Regions from separate parts of the Homo sapiens genome. Here regions 2 and 3 are each linked to region 1. The links are contacts of gene promoters, found by promoter capture Hi-C in blood cells and fetal thymus (Javierre and others, 2016). All regions are on one chromosome and are shown on one strand. Each heading gives the region's core, a stretch centred on a gene start or on the middle of the fragment in contact. The rest is flanking DNA. Distances are from core to core; before and after follow the strand shown. Region 1 holds the start of SRP9 (signal recognition particle 9). Region 2 holds the start of ACBD3 (acyl-CoA binding domain containing 3). Region 3 overlaps H3-3A (H3.3 histone A).

The links. Contacts are between HindIII fragments. The CHiCAGO score rates a contact against its expected background, and 5 or more counts as called.
Region 2: the fragment with the promoter of ACBD3 here is called in contact with the fragment with the promoter of SRP9 in region 1 in 2 of 17 cell types (monocytes and fetal thymus); the score reaches 6.2 in monocytes.
Region 3: a fragment that was not itself captured here is called in contact with the fragment with the promoter of SRP9 in region 1 in 2 of 17 cell types (naive CD4 T cells and non-activated CD4 T cells); the score reaches 5.5 in naive CD4 T cells.

What each region holds. Positions count from the first base shown.
Region 1 is chr1:225,776,564-225,779,104 of GRCh38, forward strand. SRP9 (signal recognition particle 9) reads left to right here and starts at 1,263. Exons shown (of 3, transcript NM_003133.6): 1 at 1,263-1,449. The coding sequence starts at 1,378. RefSeq lists enhancers at 256-1,016, 763-982, 1,233-1,602. The HindIII fragment of the contact is 1,703 bases long and covers 1-1,423 here.
Region 2 is chr1:226,185,462-226,188,002 of GRCh38, forward strand. ACBD3 (acyl-CoA binding domain containing 3) reads right to left here and starts at 1,280. Exons shown (of 8, transcript NM_022735.4): 1 at 929-1,280. The coding sequence starts at 1,214. LOC101927247 (a long non-coding RNA gene) reads left to right here and starts at 2,435. Exons shown (of 2, transcript XR_001738504.2): 1 at 2,435-2,472. RefSeq lists silencers at 771-1,250, 887-1,181. The HindIII fragment of the contact is 12,408 bases long and covers 1-2,541 here.
Region 3 is chr1:226,064,068-226,066,608 of GRCh38, forward strand. It overlaps H3-3A (H3.3 histone A), which reads left to right. Exons shown (of 4, transcript NM_002107.7): 2 at 262-412; 3 at 1,589-1,742. The coding sequence starts at 285. Among named protein-coding and RNA genes, the nearest start is that of H3-3A, 2.6 kb to the left of the region's middle. RefSeq lists an enhancer at 251-320. The HindIII fragment of the contact is 4,122 bases long and covers 1-2,541 here.

The DNA.
Region 1 (2,541 bases), core at 13-2,512:
GCCCAACTAATTTTTTTATTTTTAGTAGAGATGGGGTTTCACGATGTTGACCAGGGTGGTCTTGAACTCCTGACTTCAAGTGATCTGCCCACCTCAGCCTCCCAGAGTGCTGGGATTGCAGGTGTGCACCACCGCTTCCCACCTGTTTTTTTCTAATAGGCTTCCTTATTCATTTCTCACAATGGCTTTTCCAAACCTTCTCCTCAAGGATCCAAACCCATCCTTGCTTCCTCAAAGATCCAAAACCACCCTTCCTATTTACGAAGGTGGTCTCCTGTCTTAGGTGACAAGAAAATGTACCTTCTTGCCCTCGTATCTACATGCTCACCTATACCCTCACCCGACTTTTCCCTCCTCCTCACCCCATCAAAGGCAATAATGCACCTGTTTTTATTCATCTGGGCCTTTGGTCTTCCCCTTCATATTTCCCGAGACCTCGCTTTCTTCTTTCTCTTGTATTTTTTATTTTTCTATCTCTTATGTGTCCTTCTCTAAAAGTTATAAACATGCACAAAATCTTTCCATCTCAAAATATAATACCCTTTACCTGGTGTCCCCTGCAGGCCATCTTCTTTATTTATTTACTTTTGCGCCAGCGTCTTCCTCTGAAGCCCAGGCTGGGTGCGTAGCGCGATCATGGCTCACTGCAGCCTCGGACTCCCGGGCTCAAGCGATCCTCCTGCTTGGAGGATCAGATTTTTTATCCTTGCAGAAGTGATAATATGGCTTCTTCCTCATCTCCTAAACACCAGTCATCTGACATACACTGCAGATCTAAAATGGGCCTACGTGTTCTGCCCTTCCTTGCCTACCTGTTGAGCTTGCACCGCTTCTGTGAGTCTCCCCCCACCCACAAGAGATCCTTCTTCCTTCGCGCTCCACTAACCCGACATAAATGTTTATCATATAAAGTTTTCCGTTGCACTCTTGTGTTTATGTCTCCTGGCTTCTTCACCAAGCTGTGTGACAGCTGGGCCCTGTCGCCTCCTTCCTCGTATATGCAGCGACTATCGCAGAGCCGCTTAATCTTTGTTGAAGGCAGCTGCGGTTCAGCCCTGAGGGCCACGGGACGGACGCCACTCATTCAGCCCTACCGGGGGCGCTGTGGCAGCCGGCATTGGTTGCCGTGCCCTCCGCTTGTCTCGCTCAGCTCTCGAGCCACACGCCCTGGGCTCCGCCCACTCCCTGACAACATCCCTCCTGCCCATTGGGCGAGCATGGACGGGGCTGTCCAATGGAGCGAGGCGTTGGTGCGAGGAGGCGCCGCCATCTTGGGGCTGCTGGGACTCGCGTCGGTTGGCGACTCCCGGACGTAGGTAGTTTGTTGGGCCGGGTTCTGAGGCCTTGCTTCTCTTTACTTTTCCACTCTAGGCCACGATGCCGCAGTACCAGACCTGGGAGGAGTTCAGCCGCGCTGCCGAGAAGCTTTACCTCGCTGACCCTATGAAGGTAAATCGCTGGCGGGGCCGCTGCTTTGGGCCCCAGCCCAGGATGTCTTCCCGCCATCCACTCGGCCCCTGGAGCTTCCCCAGCGCTCCCAGGAGGTGCTGGGAATGAACACAAATGGACCCTGCCAAGTTAATGTTCTGCTCTCTCGTCCCCTTCTTCCCTGATCTAGCGGCCCAGTGAGGCCCTGAAGCTGGCAACAGCCAGGTTCATCTCAGCCCTAAACATTTCTGCAATCGATCTTCCCGCCCCAGTCCCTCAGCTTCCTTTATGGCTTCGGTTGTTTTACGAGTCCCTGAAGCCAGGGCTCCTCCCCCTGCAGCTTCCTGTCCTTTGTCTTGGTTCACTTTTCCTGTACCGCCTAGGCGGTAAGGGTACCTCATGTATATAAAACTGATGATGTTTTTTCTACTACCGCTCAGACATTCTTGAAAGATTCCAATTTGGAAGCATCTGTACCCCCCAGAATATTGGTTCTTAGTATTTTGGGAGTCACAGGCTTTGGGACCATAAGAATAATATTTGCACCTTTCCTCAGAAAAATGGTATAAGTAAATGTATAAGTAAATGTTTGCAAACAATTTTAAGGGATTCATGGACCTCTGAAATACATTCTTAGCCCCCACAAAAATTATAATGGAGGTGGATGTCAGAGGTTAGCTCATTATTAAAAAGCAAAGGAGTCCAAGTGATGGGAGTTTAGCATTCGGGTCTTACTTTTCGTCTCTTGAGGTTTTGGTTATTTTATTGTCATGTCTAAGAATTATTTGAAGCATCTTCGTGTTAATTAAAAGTTCTGCTTCTTTTTAGAACTCAGCATATTGAAGGGATTTTATACTGAAAACCTCAGACCTGGTTATGTATGATGCTTCTTTTGTTTTGTGTTTGTTGTAACTCAGTTATCTCTTTTATGCTGCATTCATTTCCCACTCTCGTGTTACTGACCCCAAGTTAAATTAGGTTCTGTGGGAGACACAAAGGTGAATGAGATTCCGTTCAACCCTTAAGGAGCTGGTATTATTGGAGGGTATTATAGATCCAGTGTATTGTGACTGTATCCCTCGGAGAAGAAAGAAAATTAAAAGCAGATAAAAT
Region 2 (2,541 bases), core at 30-2,529, 410 kb after region 1:
ACTTTTAAAGTTGCATTTGCTGATGTCCCTCCCTGTCCATTCGCCCTACAAGACTAAGTATCTTTAAGAATCAAACTAACGGGCTTTCATCAGTTTTTCCCACTGACAAAAATCATGTGATTGGTCTCTCCACCATTCGACTAAGTGAATCACCCAATTAAAAAAAAAAAAAACCGCACACTACAATCTTGCTCTAAGACAAGAGACATTTAACAATTAATTATGCGAAAAGCACAGAAGGTACTGTTAGGCCTTACTCTGAGAATTCACTCTTGCACATTGCTTACAATGTAAAATTTTAACCACCTAGAAGTTACTAGAACATAGTGGACATCTCTCCTCAAGAGTTTGACAAGCCGGAGAGGATGATGAGCTTAACACTTTACTTCCTCCTCTCTGCCACATCAATCTGCCGGGGGATCAAGTCCTGTTCCAGTTTATGGTTCCCAAGAATGGCTGGAAAAGCTATGTATGGAACCTCTTGACAGATTTCTTCCACTAAGGGTAAAAATCGGCGGGTTCTGATGTGACAAGCCATGGGAAATAGGAAAAGAAAAGCGTCAGTTAAAAAAATAATAATAATAAAAGGCAATCCCAGAATGGGATCCTTTGGAAGAAAGTGGGCTCATTCTTCCACCAGGGCTCCTGGAAATCCCAGAAGCTAAATCAGGTAAAATGTCCCGGTAACCTCTGGGAGGCGGGACATGACTGCTAAACCAAGGTTGCAGGCCCGTCAGGGGTGTGACCTAGTGGCCAAGCGGGTAGTGACAAACTTCGGGTACCCCCAAGGAGGGAACCCCGCTTGAGTCACCACAGCCCAGTATGAGTGGGTGAGGGCAAGTCTGGTCCAGTCACCCTGGGGACCACAGCCCACGCCGGGCTCCCGGGGCCGGGCAGAAGCGGCGGGGGTGGGGCTGGCCCGGCTCACCTTTGAAGAAGCGCAGTGCCAGGCCGTACAACTCCTCCAGGCCGAAACCCCAGCGCTGCTCCAGCCGCCGCGCCTCCTCCGCCGCGCCCCCAGCCGCCGCCTCCCCGGGCTCGGGCTGCTCCCCTGAGGCGCCCGGGCCGCGACCGGATCCAGGTGGCGAGGGCGGTGGCAGCGGTGGCGGCAGCAGCGGGGCGCCCTCCGCCCCAGGCCGCTCCTCCGGGTCCGGGCTGAGCGTGAGGCCGTCGACGGACACCTCGAGTCGCTCTGCGTTCAGCACCGCCGCCATCTCCGGCTGCTGCACCTCCTCAGCGGGGACAGACGGCAGCCACGTATCGACTTCCTGCTGACCTCTGACCTCCGCTTACCGACACCGGAACTTCCGCTGCTGAGGAGGCTGGAGGGCTCCGGGAGAGGGGCTGAGGCCTGGCGCCCCACCCCCTCCGGAATCGTCAGTTGCCCTGGCTCAGCGACCACCCTTCAGGCTCCCCAACTCCCGTTGGTCCCGAACTCCCCTCCCCCGCACCCCATCCTTTCGGATCCCAGTTGCTCCAGGTGGGCGGGTGCTACCACCCCCACCGCTCGGTTCGGTGCTGCGGCTGTCAGTGCCCAGCAGGGGCGGGGTCAGTGGAGCCCCGCGCGGGGGTCGGAGTAGGGAGGATTGACGAGGTCGGCCAGCACCCAACCCTCCAGGTCAGAGGCCCTTCACATTTGCAGGGGCCTGCGTGGTTGGCAGAGCTCTTTTGCCCACCACCATCTCGTTTGGCCTTCACAGCAACTCTAAGGAAATGCAGGGCAAATTCCCAATTTTTTTAAAAGGGGAAACTGAGACTGCAGAGAAATTCAGTGACTTTGAGGTTGCAGACGGGGCTGATCCTGGTTTTGCAGGAAGCGCAGCTCATACAATTTGTGGGGACCCTCATTAGGAAAGAGTACAAAAAGTTACGCGCAGAAGGGTAGGAAAGTGAATGTATATTTAGAAAGAGAAAGAAAAAACAAATGATATTTTAAAAGTTAATAAAACCCACAAACATCACACACATAACCGTAATATTTTCATTGACTGCCTGATATTCTTCTACAGGGCGTCTGAGAGCCCAGAAACCTATTTTTTTCTAAAAGATTGAAGTCGCCCCCGACATTATGTATATTCACCTGTGTTTCCAGACTTTGGGAGCACCATTTATGATCATTTTTCCCACCTTTGTTTTGGCTGCGTACTTCTGATTGCCTTTTCCTATAACAATTATTTTGTAACTTTTTTTTTTTTTTTTTTTTTTTGTTTTTTGCAGACAGTCCTGCTGTGCCACCCAGGCTGGAGTGTAGTGGTGCAATTCGGTTCACTGCAACCTCTGCCTCCCGGGTTCAAGCAACTCTCCTGCCTCAGCCTCCCAAGTAGTTGGGATTACAGGTGCTCACCACCACGCCCGGCTAATTTTTGTAAACTTAGTAGAGTCAGAGTTTCCCCATGTTGGCCAGGCTGGTCTCAAACTCCTGACCTCATGTGATCTGCCCGCCTCAGCCTCCCCAAAGTGCTGGGATTACAGGTGAGAGCCACCGCGCCCGGCGTATTTTGTAATTCTCTATAAAGAAAAGAGAAAGATCAGTCTTTTCTC
Region 3 (2,541 bases), core at 13-2,512, 290 kb after region 1:
ATTTTTGTTTTGCCGTTTGTCGCTCAGAATTGGCATTTTGAGAGGTGATTGATACTGCTAACAATTTTCTAGTACTCTAGTTTGTTTCAAGAAGAGATTTTGGGTAGACGTAATCTTCACCCTTTCAAATTATATAACAATACGAACATTATTTTTTATACTGATCATAATTTCCAGATTTGGGGAGGGGGTGATCGTGGCAGGAAAAGTTGTATGTTTGGTAGTTGCATATGGTGATTTTTGATTTTTCAATGCTGGTAGGTAAGTAAGGAGGTCTCTGTACCATGGCTCGTACAAAGCAGACTGCCCGCAAATCGACCGGTGGTAAAGCACCCAGGAAGCAACTGGCTACAAAAGCCGCTCGCAAGAGTGCGCCCTCTACTGGAGGGGTGAAGAAACCTCATCGTTACAGGTATTAAAAAACAGGAAAAAAATGGGACAAAGTCTCTCTTGTATGTATCCACATAATTTAACAAAAAGATGGATAACAGGAAAACTTTTTGCTTTAGAGAAACTTTTTTTTTTCATTTGAACACTTAACTACTGCTTAAATAAATGTACTGTATGATCATTTATATATAAAGTTAAGTATTAGGTTTTATTGAAAACGTTTAACTTTGAAGCCATAATCTTACCTGGAGGTCTAAGGAGACCTCGTATATCACTGATAATGTTAATGGGATATATTGACATTTTAGTTAACTATTAGTAATTCTTTAAAAATAGTTAAGTGTTGCTTTCTTGAATACACTTTTGAGGTTATCTTTCCTAGTTTTTGGCAAAATAATAATATAATCGAGATTGGGTGTTTTATAAAGTTCCTACCCCCTCATTTACTTGATTAGCTTATTTCCTTCTGTATTAGCTCTTTTGATTGTGAACTACCTGAGCCACTGTGTTGTTAAGGGCATCTGCCATTAGAGGGCAGAAGTTGCCTAGACTTAGCCTCCGCAAATATTACGATTAACCTAAAATAAAAGCTCATACAGTGGAAGAAATAAGTCAGAATGAGAGGTAAATTTCTTGCTGACAATTACTTAGTAAAAAAAACTTTTCCACGTGGAAGGAACACTGCACAATCGGGTGTATTCAAATTTAATAGTTGATGAGGGGTGAACTGTAGTCAGGGTAGAGGTATTCTGGGAAATAGAACTTGAATGCCACAAGCAGATTTTTAAATGAAGTTCATTGGGTTGTGTTGGTCATCTTTAAGGGCTCTTAAGATAATAGAGGGTGTAGGGAAGGAGAGTGGTGCTAAATTGAGGGGAGCCAACTTCTTCATTAGCCTGACAGCTAATACCTTCCCAAGGTTTATATACATGAATAACTTTTTAAAATGAAAATAAATAGGGCTTTGATGAATTTCTTGCTAAGAATGCATTTTAATTTCATGCTTTTTGCTTTAAAGGTATTGTTACTAGATTTGAATGTTCACATCTTAAGTTGATCAGTGAAATTTGATACTGAAGCTGAAGAATTGTTGGGTGGCTTATTTTTTGAAAGATTACTGCATTTCTTTGAAGCTGCCCACTTACCTTTTTGTGCTAGTTATGTTTTTGGTAACAGTTTCTTTATTAATTTTTTAAAGGCCTGGTACTGTGGCGCTCCGTGAAATTAGACGTTATCAGAAGTCCACTGAACTTCTGATTCGCAAACTTCCCTTCCAGCGTCTGGTGCGAGAAATTGCTCAGGACTTTAAAACAGATCTGCGCTTCCAGAGCGCAGCTATCGGTGCTTTGCAGGTAAAATGGTGGGTGGGAAGACTCAGAGTTTGTATTCCTGTTGTGTACCAAGAACAGTTCCAAATTGTTGCATGTGCTTATATCATTTAATCACAAGCCTGTCAGGTAGTTGATATTGTTACTTCACTGTTGAGACTTCAGAAAGGTTAAATTGCTCAAGGTCATACACGTAGAAAATGGCAAAACCATAATTTGAACCTATTTGACTCCAAGGCTTAGTGCACATTCCATTATACCATTTAAAATTTTGAAACATTGCACTAAAAACAATATTTAAAGAAAATCCTCTGGTTTGGTTTATGGATGCTGCAGGACATTAAGAAGAACTTGAGACTAGAGGTCTATATTTGTAGTAACAATTTCAAACAACAGTGCCTAGAATAAAAGAAATGTCTCTTCAGGTCCTGAAGAAACATATAGGTAGAGAGAGCTTAATACCTAGGATGGGAATAGGCAGTATTAAAAAATTATGCATTAAGACGTAAAAGGAGCAGTGAGTGGAGGATAGGATTGGATTGGCAAGATTGGGGGAACGGTGCTTAAAGGTGATACTGGACGTGTAAAGGGGCCAGGATTTGCCTTGTGGTTTCCTAAAGGGGATTAGGGATTGCCACTTACATGTGGAGCATATTGAATTTAATCTTAATCTCTAGCATGTCAGGACTTAGAGAAATACTGTTCTAGAGATATTTATGTATTTGAGATATTTGTGGTTTAAGTTAAGACCAAAACTTGAAATTCCTACAAGATACTTGATAAAGGTATGTAGACGTCATTAACATCAGTCACTTAAGTAACC